Regions from separate parts of the Homo sapiens genome. Here regions 2 and 3 are each linked to region 1. Evidence: promoter capture Hi-C in 16 types of primary human blood cells and fetal thymus (Javierre and others, 2016). All regions are on one chromosome and are shown on one strand. The core of a region is centred on a gene start or on the middle of the fragment in contact, and the rest is flanking DNA. Distances in the headings are between cores, read along the strand shown. Region 1 holds the start of RASGRF2 (Ras protein specific guanine nucleotide releasing factor 2). Region 2 overlaps RASGRF2 (Ras protein specific guanine nucleotide releasing factor 2). Region 3 overlaps RASGRF2 (Ras protein specific guanine nucleotide releasing factor 2).

What was found. The method cuts DNA at HindIII sites, captures the fragments that hold promoters and counts their contacts. A CHiCAGO score of 5 or more calls a contact.
Region 2: a fragment that was not itself captured here is called in contact with the fragment with the promoter of RASGRF2 in region 1 in 6 of 17 cell types (activated CD4 T cells, non-activated CD4 T cells, total CD4 T cells and 3 more); the score reaches 10.2 in activated CD4 T cells.
Region 3: a contact is called between a fragment that was not itself captured here and the fragment with the promoter of RASGRF2 in region 1, in 3 of 17 cell types (activated CD4 T cells, non-activated CD4 T cells and naive CD4 T cells). The highest score is 7.5, in activated CD4 T cells.

What each region holds. Positions count from the first base shown.
Region 1 is chr5:80,958,396-80,961,967 of GRCh38, reverse strand. RASGRF2 (Ras protein specific guanine nucleotide releasing factor 2) reads right to left here and starts at 1,605. Exons shown (of 27, transcript NM_006909.3): 1 at 942-1,605. The coding sequence starts at 1,229. RASGRF2-AS1 (RASGRF2 antisense RNA 1) reads left to right here and starts at 1,061. Exons shown (of 4, transcript NR_105015.1): 1 at 1,061-1,187. RefSeq lists an enhancer at 781-1,502. The HindIII fragment of the contact is 16,452 bases long and covers 1-3,572 here.
Region 2 is chr5:81,083,115-81,086,686 of GRCh38, reverse strand. It overlaps RASGRF2 (Ras protein specific guanine nucleotide releasing factor 2), which reads right to left. Exons shown (of 27, transcript NM_006909.3): 8 at 776-885. Among named protein-coding and RNA genes, the nearest start is that of RASGRF2-AS1, 120 kb to the right of the region's middle. The HindIII fragment of the contact is 1,490 bases long and covers 975-2,464 here.
Region 3 is chr5:81,060,104-81,063,675 of GRCh38, reverse strand. All of the region lies in intron 2 of RASGRF2 (Ras protein specific guanine nucleotide releasing factor 2), which reads right to left. Among named protein-coding and RNA genes, the nearest start is that of RASGRF2-AS1, 100 kb to the right of the region's middle. The HindIII fragment of the contact is 2,538 bases long and covers 575-3,112 here.

The DNA of each region.
Region 1 (3,572 bases), core at 356-2,855:
TCAGCCTTTTTCATATCAAGGTGGGGATTGAGAAGCTAAATGAGAACATTAGGGGCATAAAATTAGTCTGCTTTAACTTTAATAACCAAACGGTGATTGGAAACATACAAACTTTGTGTTTGCAGGAATGAGGGGCTGGGATCACTAAGACTTAAAGGGTTTTTCTCCCCCACCCCGCGACCATGAGCACACAGCAAAACTAATAAAATTATGACCCAGAATTAAAAGGTCGCATTCATTTTCAAAGCATTCATTTAAAAGTACAGAAGCGTTCTTTAAAAATGCCCACATTTTTAAACATAGCAAGAATGTGGCTACCAAATATTAATCCTGAGGAATATGAATACACATTTACCTTCATAATTACACCCAGCAGGTCAAATGTTAGCAAGGCCAACTGACCGAAATCACAAAGACTGATTGAAAATGACCAACAGAAAGTGTCTGTCCGGCTTGGGAGCCCCGCTTGTTCCCAGCCCAACCAGTGGTCAAACATCTGCAGGCAAAGAAATCTACACGCGCCAGCCGGGTATGGCAGAAATCAAACTTTTCCAAATAAGTTAGTTCCGTCTTGCCAATCTACACCCAACAGGTGTCAATACATGTCACCAGACAAAAATCTGGCGAGCCAGGTCTAGAGAAGCAATAGATGGTTGGCAGAGAAGCTGAAACGACTCGACCTCTACCAGGGTAATGAAAGCAAGTCGGGCCACTATTCTGACTGATCACTTGGCAGTGGGGTGGAGGGGTATGGAGATGGGAGAATCCCTGGATGAAGATCGGAAGGAGCGTGGAGATGTCCCGCCACTGGTGACGCGGGGGGATTTCGGAGCATAGTCCCCGCACTCTTTCACGACCCCCGACCCCTGATCCCCGGATTAGGACGGCAAGGGAGTGCGGCGATCAAGGCTGGGAGACCGCGGAGAGAAGGCGCGCGGTACCTGCTTGTCCAGCGCGTCTCGGACGCCTCCCTGCCCGGCGCCGGCCCTGGGTGGCGCGGGCGTTCGTTCGCAGCTGCAGCCCTCCAGGAGGTACATGCCCGCCGGGCGGCAGCTCTGCTCGCCCTCGAAGTAGAAGAGCACATTCTGGTAGAGGGCGAACCACTTCTCGTGCCAGCGGCTCGCCTCGGCCGTCTTCTTACTCAGGAAGCCGCGCTTGGTGCCCTCCTTGCGCGCCAGAAAGGCCAGGTACAGGGCGTGCCCCTCGTTGTAGCGCACGCTCTTCTGCATGGTGCGGGTGCGGAGGGCTCACGGGTGGCCGCCGGTCTCACCCCTGCCTCGCGGCCATGGCCCAGCTGGCTCCCTCGAGGGCGCGACCGCTCAGGTCCCGGCCGGCGAAGGGCGCCCCCTTTCCCCACGCCGCGCGCAGGGCACCCCGCCCGCTTTCGGGAGGCCGCGGCGCGCGGTGGCAGGGGCGCGGGCTGGGGCCGAGGCACGCTCTCCGCCCTAACCACCACCCTCCCGGCCGAGCCCCCGGAGCCCCCCAAGCCCCCAACGCCCGCGTGGAGCGCGGCCCCGCGAGGGCGCCCGAGCCGGCCGCCGCTTCGCCCAAAGTTGCGGGAGCCGAGCCCCCGCGGCGGGCTGGGGCGGCAGCCGGGGAAGGACTGTCCTCGGGCAACGCGCTCCGGGAGACAGAAGGTAAAACGTCACGTGGGAGCTCAGCTGTAATCGGCTTGGAGACCGATTTAAAGGGCAAAGTCGGCGCGGCGCCGGCGGTGGCGCAGCCCGCTTGCCCCGGCTCGCGTCCCTCCCTCGCCCGCCCCGGCCCGGGCCGCTGCCTCTGCTCGGGCGCCCGCCGGGATGGGGCGGATCAGGGAGGTGGAGGCGCCCGGCCGCACCACACACCCGCTCACACGCGCTCGCACACTCGCGCACAACGCGCGCACACACACACGCACACCCACACACACGCAGACCAGTACATTCACCCAGATCCACAATGCACACACTCAGACGCACAAAAATACACTCACAAATGCACACAAACACAATGCGCGCACATATGCACAAAAACACACGCGCACACACTCATGACACACAAATACACATTCTCACAACGCTCACACTCAACACACAGTCACAACGCACAAATGCATATAGACAAATACACCCACAATGTGCGTTCCCGCGCACAAAAATAAAACCCACATTCAGATACACACTTAAGGAGCTACACACATGCACGCAGTGATATGCTCACTTACACACACATTCACACACAACCCACACATTCACTCAAACCCACATTCAAACATACATTCATACACACATTACACTCATACAGTCACACAAACAGCACACATATACTCACACGTTCACAATCATACAGACTCATAAGCAGATAATCAAACACACACACAGATGAACACACATGTACATTCACAAATTCATCCAAAAATACACACAAAGCACTCACACACGTATTCGCACGAATCCACACACTTTCACAAACCCACTCACACATACACACACACTCACATGCCACATCCATAAGTACGTTCCCATGGCAGTAGGTAGAGTCACAGAGTGGCTTTGCATAGCCCGCATCCTTGGCTTTTCTGCTTGTACCTGCATTGTAGTATTTAAAACTGCCGGTAAAGGTTAAGGAGAGTGGCCCAAGTGTTCCCGGAAAGGCATCAGATGCCGAAGTTCTTTCGGAATGCCTGTTATTTCACAGTGGTAAGATGCTAAATTTTAAGTGCCGAGTTTTCAACCTGGAAAAAAATACCCAAATAAGGGACACTTTGCTGCCCAGGGCAGAATCCAACCCCAAAGGCCAGCTGTCACAGGCTCATCGTTTGTAGGACTGGATTCATTTGATTAACAAATCTGACAGGTACAACCAGAAAACCAAGAGCCACCCCCCCGCCCCAACCCCATGCTGTAAAAATGTAAGTGGAAAAGAAATAATGTAGCCAGCAGCTGTGAGAGAAAGCCAGTGAAACCCCCGGGGAGGGCCTATATTTGATTCTGCTATACACATTTTTTATTTTCCCCAGTCATTTATCACTAAAACGGAGTGCCATCATAAAATGTTTATTGTTAAAAGTAAATAATAATGCTTTTCTGGGTGATGAGTCTACGACAATACACCTGTCTTGTACTGCCAGTTGTGTGTTCATGAATTGGTAGCCCCAGGGGTTCTGCCTGTTTCATAAGTGCTGTTTCTGCAGAATATTTTAACTCTGCCTCACTGAGCAGCTGAGTGGGGTTTTTTTTTCCTTTTACCTTTTTAAAAAATTTTCACTTTTAACAAGTATATAGTAGGGAAATTGCCATTTTGAAATTACAGCGTGAGAACAGTGGTCATTTCTCTTTACGTTTTTAAAAATATCTAAAGGACAGTGCTGTGCTAAATTGGGTTTAACCCAGCTGGAAGTTTGCATTGTTCTTCAGAGAAGACACAAGTACAGAGACAGTAAGTAAATGCAGGCAACATTTTGGAGCCAGATTCTAGATGCAGAGGAGCTGGTGATTGCCTCAGGAGGCCTTTTATTTCTTTCTCTGTGGTCCAATCCCAGCTGTGAGAACCGTAAGTGAGTAGACACCTGTGTGGTTGATAAGCTCCATTTT
Region 2 (3,572 bases), core at 470-2,969, 120 kb before region 1:
GCTTCAACAGGTCATGACCAAAAACAAAGCCAATGTGCCTCATAATTCTAAACAGTAAATGGGTCAGCAATTACGAGCATCCTGGGCATGTCTGCTTCTAAGTGCAACAGGAAAGCAACATGTCATTTTGTGGCCAGTTCCCGTCATTGAGATTAGGGGGCCATTTCTTGGAGGCAGACTAAATAAGAGACCTTTAGACCATTTATCCCATATAAGCTAAAGTAACACAGACATAAATAAGTGCTTGTAACAATGAAAAGTCACTGAGAAATGCAAACTGTACATTCTCTAGCTTCTTACCAAATATGAATACAAAATGCAACTGAGAGTCTTTTTTGTTGAGATGGGGTCTCGCTATGTTGCCCAGGCTGGTCTCAAATTCCTGGGGTCAAATAATCATCACCCCTTGCACCCTCGTCTCAGCTTCCCAAGTAGCTGGGACTACAGGTGCACACCACCACACCTGGCTATCATTTTTTTTTTAATGCTGAAAGAAACATGAACATTTCCAAACTTAAACCAAAATACACCTAATCTGAATTACATAAATTCACATGCTATAAGAACATTTTCCAAGATACGTATTTTTCTTGGTTCAAATGAATGTGAATGATGATTCAATATCACCTCACAAGCTACTATTTAACTTTCAGGTGAATCTGAGAAGCTGGATTTGTTTTGCTTCTTGTTCCTTAGAACATATACAGGAGGTTTCCACAAGAGACTAACTTGCTGCTTTCCTCTCCCAAGCCTTTGTTATAAGTTCTTGGCATACCTGGATAGTTCCTCTAGCTTTGATTTGGCAAACTCCAGGCTTTTCCTTTCCACATGCTCATGGGGTGTGTGAGCAAGGAGCTCATGGAGTGTGATGATATATCTGGGGATCTAGATGCAAACAGAGGCCAGTATGAGCAAGACATCAGGATGGGTGACAGGGCACATGCTCCGCAGGGCCATCATTGCTTCGAGAAGCTTGTCTCTACTCTCCCACTTTTTACTGTTTTACACATTTTTTAAAAAAGAAATACAAATAAAATGAACTACACTTCACACTTCATGCACACCAAAAAAAAGACTTCACCAAGAACACATGAAAAGGTGGAAATTATTGAAGTGTTATGGTACAAAGAGATGGTTGTTTCTTTAATTTTTTTTTACATAATCATACACTTTTGAATCATAATTTTTGAAAACTGGTTCAGAGGGAAACAGATACAGCTATCATCAAGTCACTTGAGTCTGTATTTTAGATATATTAGTCCATTTGCAATGTTTTTAAATCAACAATCCCACTGCACTATTCTCCCTAAGAATTAAAACTTGGGAGAAGACATGTTCACCTTTATTACTTTCTGTTTCTACTTTATCTCAATTCACCTCCTTGCAGTAAAAAGTATTGTTTAGGTTATTTATTTGTACTTTTGTTTATTAACAGACTATCTGAATTCTGTCAAAGACAGAAACTCCACCAACCAGAGGAAGATCTTAATAAACCATGATAGAGATTCAACCTAATTTCTAGTGACACAACTTATTTATTGTGGGCTTAATTTTAACAATAACATGCATGAACATCTACCACAACATTACCCACTCGGGGGTTAGACTGGGTGCTCCAGGCTTTGCCAATGTGTCCAGTCCTCTAACATCATAAGGATTATGTCTCCATTTTATAGATAGAGAACTAAAATGGGAAGAAGTTTTAGGCTTTTACAGATAGAGAACTAAAGTGGGAAGAAGTTTGGTAACTTGCCCAAACTTGCCCCATTGGTGGCCTCACAGTAAATGGGAGCGTCAACTATAATCCCAGCTCTGACCAGTGCACTAACTGTCTTTTCTCAGAACTCACCCTGGGAGCTCTCGTCTGCGGGGACTGAGGTCTCACTCAGCACTTGAAAGTACCTTTGAGAATGAAGAAACTACAACAGCTTTCCAGGACCCTGTGTGCAGTTTCTTCCATTCTGTCCTGAAGGGTCAGTGGCCCTACCTAGGGATCTGCATTGGCTCTTGTGCAAGTGGTGGCCTTCATTGGGCTGCTTACCAATGTTTATTGAGTGTGTCCATTTACACACTATGCATAGACACAGCCACCATTAGCACAGACATTGAACTTCAGCTCTGGGATCACACCCTAAGGAATGTCATCAAATCAAGGCTTCAGGAAGCACAAATAGGCCCCCTTCATCGTGGAAGGGTGGGAAACAGGAGAATCCTCCCTTTTTAGGATATATGGAGGAGATTTTCTGCTCCTTCTCCCATGAACTTCTCACTAATACAGCCCTTAGGGTTGTCCCACTTGATGAAGTCTCCTGGGATAAGTGTGCTTTCAAATATCTTTTTCGCTGGCATAATTGCATGACTGATAAAAGTTTGCCTCTAATTAGTAATTCCACAAGAAAATCAAGGCAATCAATAGCTAATGTACAAAATTTTTCATAGCAAACAGGACAGGTGTAGGAAAGCTTGAGTACTTATAATGCACTGAAAATCCACAAAACTGAGTTTGGTCAATACTCTCATGATCCTTCCTCATTACTTAAATTTCTTTTAAAGTGCTCGCTGGCTAAGATTCAGGTAGATGGATTTGAATTCAGTCTCTGGCCCTTTCTGCCTTATGGTGAAGGAACAAACAGGCACTGAAACTGCCAAAAAGCAGGCAAACGAAGTTCTGCAGAGAAGTGGTCAGCTCTCCAAAGGGCTCATCTGTATCTTCAAGAGCTGATTATAAATCTCTTCCCCCAAAACCAAGAATCATAGGAACTGTCTAAATGAATCATAATTCTGCTTTCAATTATGGAGCAAATACTTGTCACTTTATAGACATTAATTAGCTTGCTCTCCAATTACAGTAAATAAGTGGATAGAATAGCAAGTAGCTACTTTCTGGAGAACATCTAACACTGCTGTTCTTGTCAGGAGCAGATTTCACGATTGGCTTACCAATGGACTTTCGACACATACATATCCAAATAAATACATGAGCAGCTGAAGCCAATTTAAACAGTACCAGCCAAGCCACTGTCTTTAATAAATAAAAATTATGTTAATGACAACATTATTTTCCATAACAAATTTCTTGGCAATACTTGGACTTACTGTTCTGATAGTTCAACTGGGGATAATTTTACTGCATCATCCAAATTCTACAATTTCTCCATGTTTCCATAGTTCAACATAGCTTGATAACAGCAGCAACTGACTAACTCAAAAAAGGGCCGAGAAGGAGGAAGACAATCACCTTCTCTCTTCTACACATACAAGCTAAAGGCTTCCAATTGCCTCTCCTCCTCTCTCTTCCCCTACACTAACTTCTGCCTCCATATCTGGGCTCAAGAAAGTCTGGACAGAGGTCTCTTGGCAGTATAAACTAGGGTCACCTCTTCCACTGTTGGCCTCCAGCAAAAAAAAAAAAAAAAAGTGAGAACCCTAGCCTCATCCTGAGGCGTCCACCCTTACAAGGGAGCAAGGCAAACATGCAGAAGTACCACTGCTAATACAGAGAGAAGCAGATACAACCGGACCCTCCAAGGGATTCAAATACCTCCATGACTATTTCACTTCATTAGTGAAAG
Region 3 (3,572 bases), core at 594-3,093, 100 kb before region 1:
GAGATTGGAAATATAAAAGGAAAACTGAGTAACCTAGAGTATAGATCCAAGAAGTCTAATATCTGTCTTGTGGGAGTTCCAGAAAGGAAAAAAGTTACACTGCAATAGGGAAAAAATATTAATAATAAAGAAATGAGAGCTGGGCACTGTGGCTCACACCTGTAATCCTAGCACTTTGGGATACTGAGGCAGGCAGATCACCTGAGTTTGAAACTAGCCTGGCCAACATGGTGAAACTCTGTCTTTACTAAAATACAAAAAATTAGCCAGGTGTGGTGGCGGGCATCTATAGTCACAGCTACTTGGGAGGCTGAGGCAGGAGAATCATTTGAACCCGGGAGGCAGAGGTTGCAGTGAGCCGAGATCACGCCACTGCACTCCAGCCTGGGCAACAGAGAGAGACTCCATCTAAAAAAGAAAAAACAGAAATGGAAGAAACTTTCCCTGAACTGAGCATAGCACAGTTCAAATAGAATAATCCAAATACCAGACAAGATAAATGAAAACATTTCATACTCTGATACATCTTGGTAAAATATCAGAATTCTAAGGATAGAGAAAAATTATAGAAGCTTCCAAAGAGAAACAATAGGTAGCAAAAGGAAGTGAGAATCATGCTGTCATAGTTTTTTTTTTTCTGTCATACTTTTCATCATTAACTTGGAATTCTAGGTGGCAACAAAGAATTGTGGAGAAAATATTTTGAGCCTGCATAACAATTTCTAAAACAATAAACAATACACAGACAACCAATCACTGACCAAGTACCAGGACAAGACAGGAAAAACTTACTATCCCCACACACTTACTGCAGGAAAACATTATGAGGAGGTTTTCCAACCAAACAAAACAGAAATCAAAGACAATAAAATGACATTGAATGCAAGAAAACAAGCCAGATGAAGTAAAGGAAGGTAGAAAGAAACTAGAAGTTGACACACACAAGGTTCTTCTTCAAGGAGCAAATATTCAATGACACGGTACATTTCATTCTCTGTGGGACCAAACACCAACCTTGATACTTTGGGACACAATATTTGTTATAACCACTATGGAAATGTTCCTTGTTGGTTTTTAATTTTCAGAATCAGCCTATGACAAAACACAGAGGAACAATTTAGAGAACAGAATATGTCTAAAAGTTTATAAAGTGAGAATAAATAATAATGAAAGAAAACCTCAGGATTAGAAAAGAAAAAACAATGAAAACACATTAAATGTCTTAACTTATTATACTTATTTTTCCTAGCAGAGACAATACATACTGTCTAAAGTTGATAAATCAATAGAGGTTTAATTATATTATTTTAAGTTATGAAGTCAACCAATTTAAGATCTAAAAATATGTAAGTAACAAAAACAGAGCGGGCAAAAGACAGGGACATAAGAGGTATTGTAAGGGTGTTAAATTTTTCATTTTTATGCCAGAGAATCAATCACACTGGCTAAAATTAGTAAGTCAAGAAATACACAAAAGGGCTTCACACAATGTAATAAACAAATGACTAATAAATGCATGAAAAAGGGTCCTTCTTGCTGGGCACAGTGGCCTATGCTTACAATCCCAACACTTTGGGAAGCTGAGGTGAGAGGATAGCTTGAGGCCAGGAGTGACCAGCCTGAGCAACATAGTAAGATCTCATCTCTACAGTTTTTTTTTTTTTTTTTTTTTTTTTTTGTCAGCTGGGATCAGGTGTGGTGGCTCATGTCTGTAATCCTAGCACTTTGGGAGGCTGAGGCAGGCAGATCACTTTAGCTCAGGAGTTTGAGACCAGCCTGGGCAACATGGTGAAACCCCATCTCTACAAAATAAATACAAAAATAAGCTGGGTGTGGTGGCATGCACCTGTAGCCCCAGCTACTTGGGGGGCCAAGGCGGGAGGGTAACTTGAGCCCGGGAGATCAAGGCTGCAATGATGGTATTCATGCCACTGCACTCCAGGTTGGGTGACAAAATGAGACCCTATCTCAGAAAGGAAGGAAAGAAGGAAGGAAATAAATTAGCTGGGTGTGGTAGCATACACCTATAGTCCCAGCTACTCAAGGAGGCTGAGGCAGGAGGATCACTTGAGCCCAGGATTTTGAAGCTGCAGTGAGCTATGATTGCACCACCACACTCCAGCATGGGAAACAGGGAGAGATCCTGTCTCAAAAAAAAAAAAAAGTCCTTCTTAATCAAAGAATTACAAATTATTTACCAAAACTGGTTAAGATTTTTAGAAAAATAGTACTCAGGGCTAACAAAGATATAGTAAATAGATATTGTCATATAGTACCACTGAAGTGAGTCATTGTAGAAGACAATATCACAATATGTATCAAAACAGGTCAAAATGGTTATATCCTTTGCCTTCATAATTTCACTTCTAATAATATCACTCAAGAAAAATAATCTGACACTTGCACAACGAGATACAAAAGAAACAAAATGTTCATTCATTAAAAACAAATATAAGAAAATGGAGACAATCTAAATATACACATTTATAATATGGGATTGGTTAAATAAGTAATAATATATCTTCATAATGGAATGATAACAAGCCATTTAAAATATGTTTTTTGAAAATAGTCATAACATAATGGCACATACCCAAGATTTATTGATAAATAAACAGAAAAAAAAACAAGAAATTGAGATAAACATTATATGTACATGTACATGTATATATGTTCATACACAGAGGGAGAAAATTAAGTGTATACACAGACATAAGCAGAAGAGGAGAAGGGAAGAGAGAGACAGAGAGAAAGGTACTCTAATGAGAGACATACATCAAAACTTAAAGGGAGCTTTCTTTGGCTGGAGCAATTATGGGTGATTTTTAATTTCTTCTTGAGTTACTTCTTTTGTACTTTTCCATACTTTCCAATATTTCTGTAATATTAAGTGGGGAGAAAAGAGAAAATACATAAAATCCTAATGGTAGTTATTTACTTCATGCATTGGGATTATAAGTAACATGATTTCCTTCTTCCTGGGTTCCTGCGAGTCCAAATTGATTCTTTGAGTCAATAAATATTTACTGAGTGTTGTATATTTGGGAACTGTTCAAAATACTGGGCACAGGAGTAAACACAGTAGGAAAAAAATCTGTGTCTTTATGAAGCTTATACAGTAGTAGAGAGAGAAAGACAACATTAATAAGACAAATCTATCATATGTCACCTGGTGATGAGTACTGTAGAGGAAAAATGGTAAGAGGAGAACAGGAAGTAGGGGGGCAGAGGTTACAATTTTAACCAAGCGGTGAGGGCTGCTTTCATGGAGAAATGGTACTGGAGAAACGACTTGAAGCAGGGACATGCGTGGCTAGCTGATGGAACAGCATCCAGGCCCAGGGAACAGTATGTGCAAAAGCCCTGCAGTGGGAGTGGGCCTAGCCTGTCTAGGGAATGACAAAGTGGTGAGTTTCCTCAAGGGGAATGGTATGGTTTAGATCTGTGTCACACCCAAATCTCACATTGAGATGTAATCTCCAGTGTTGGAGGTGGGGCCTATTGGGAGGTGTGTGGGTCATGTGTGGATCATGGGGACAGATCCCTCATGGCTTCATGCTGTCCTCAAGACA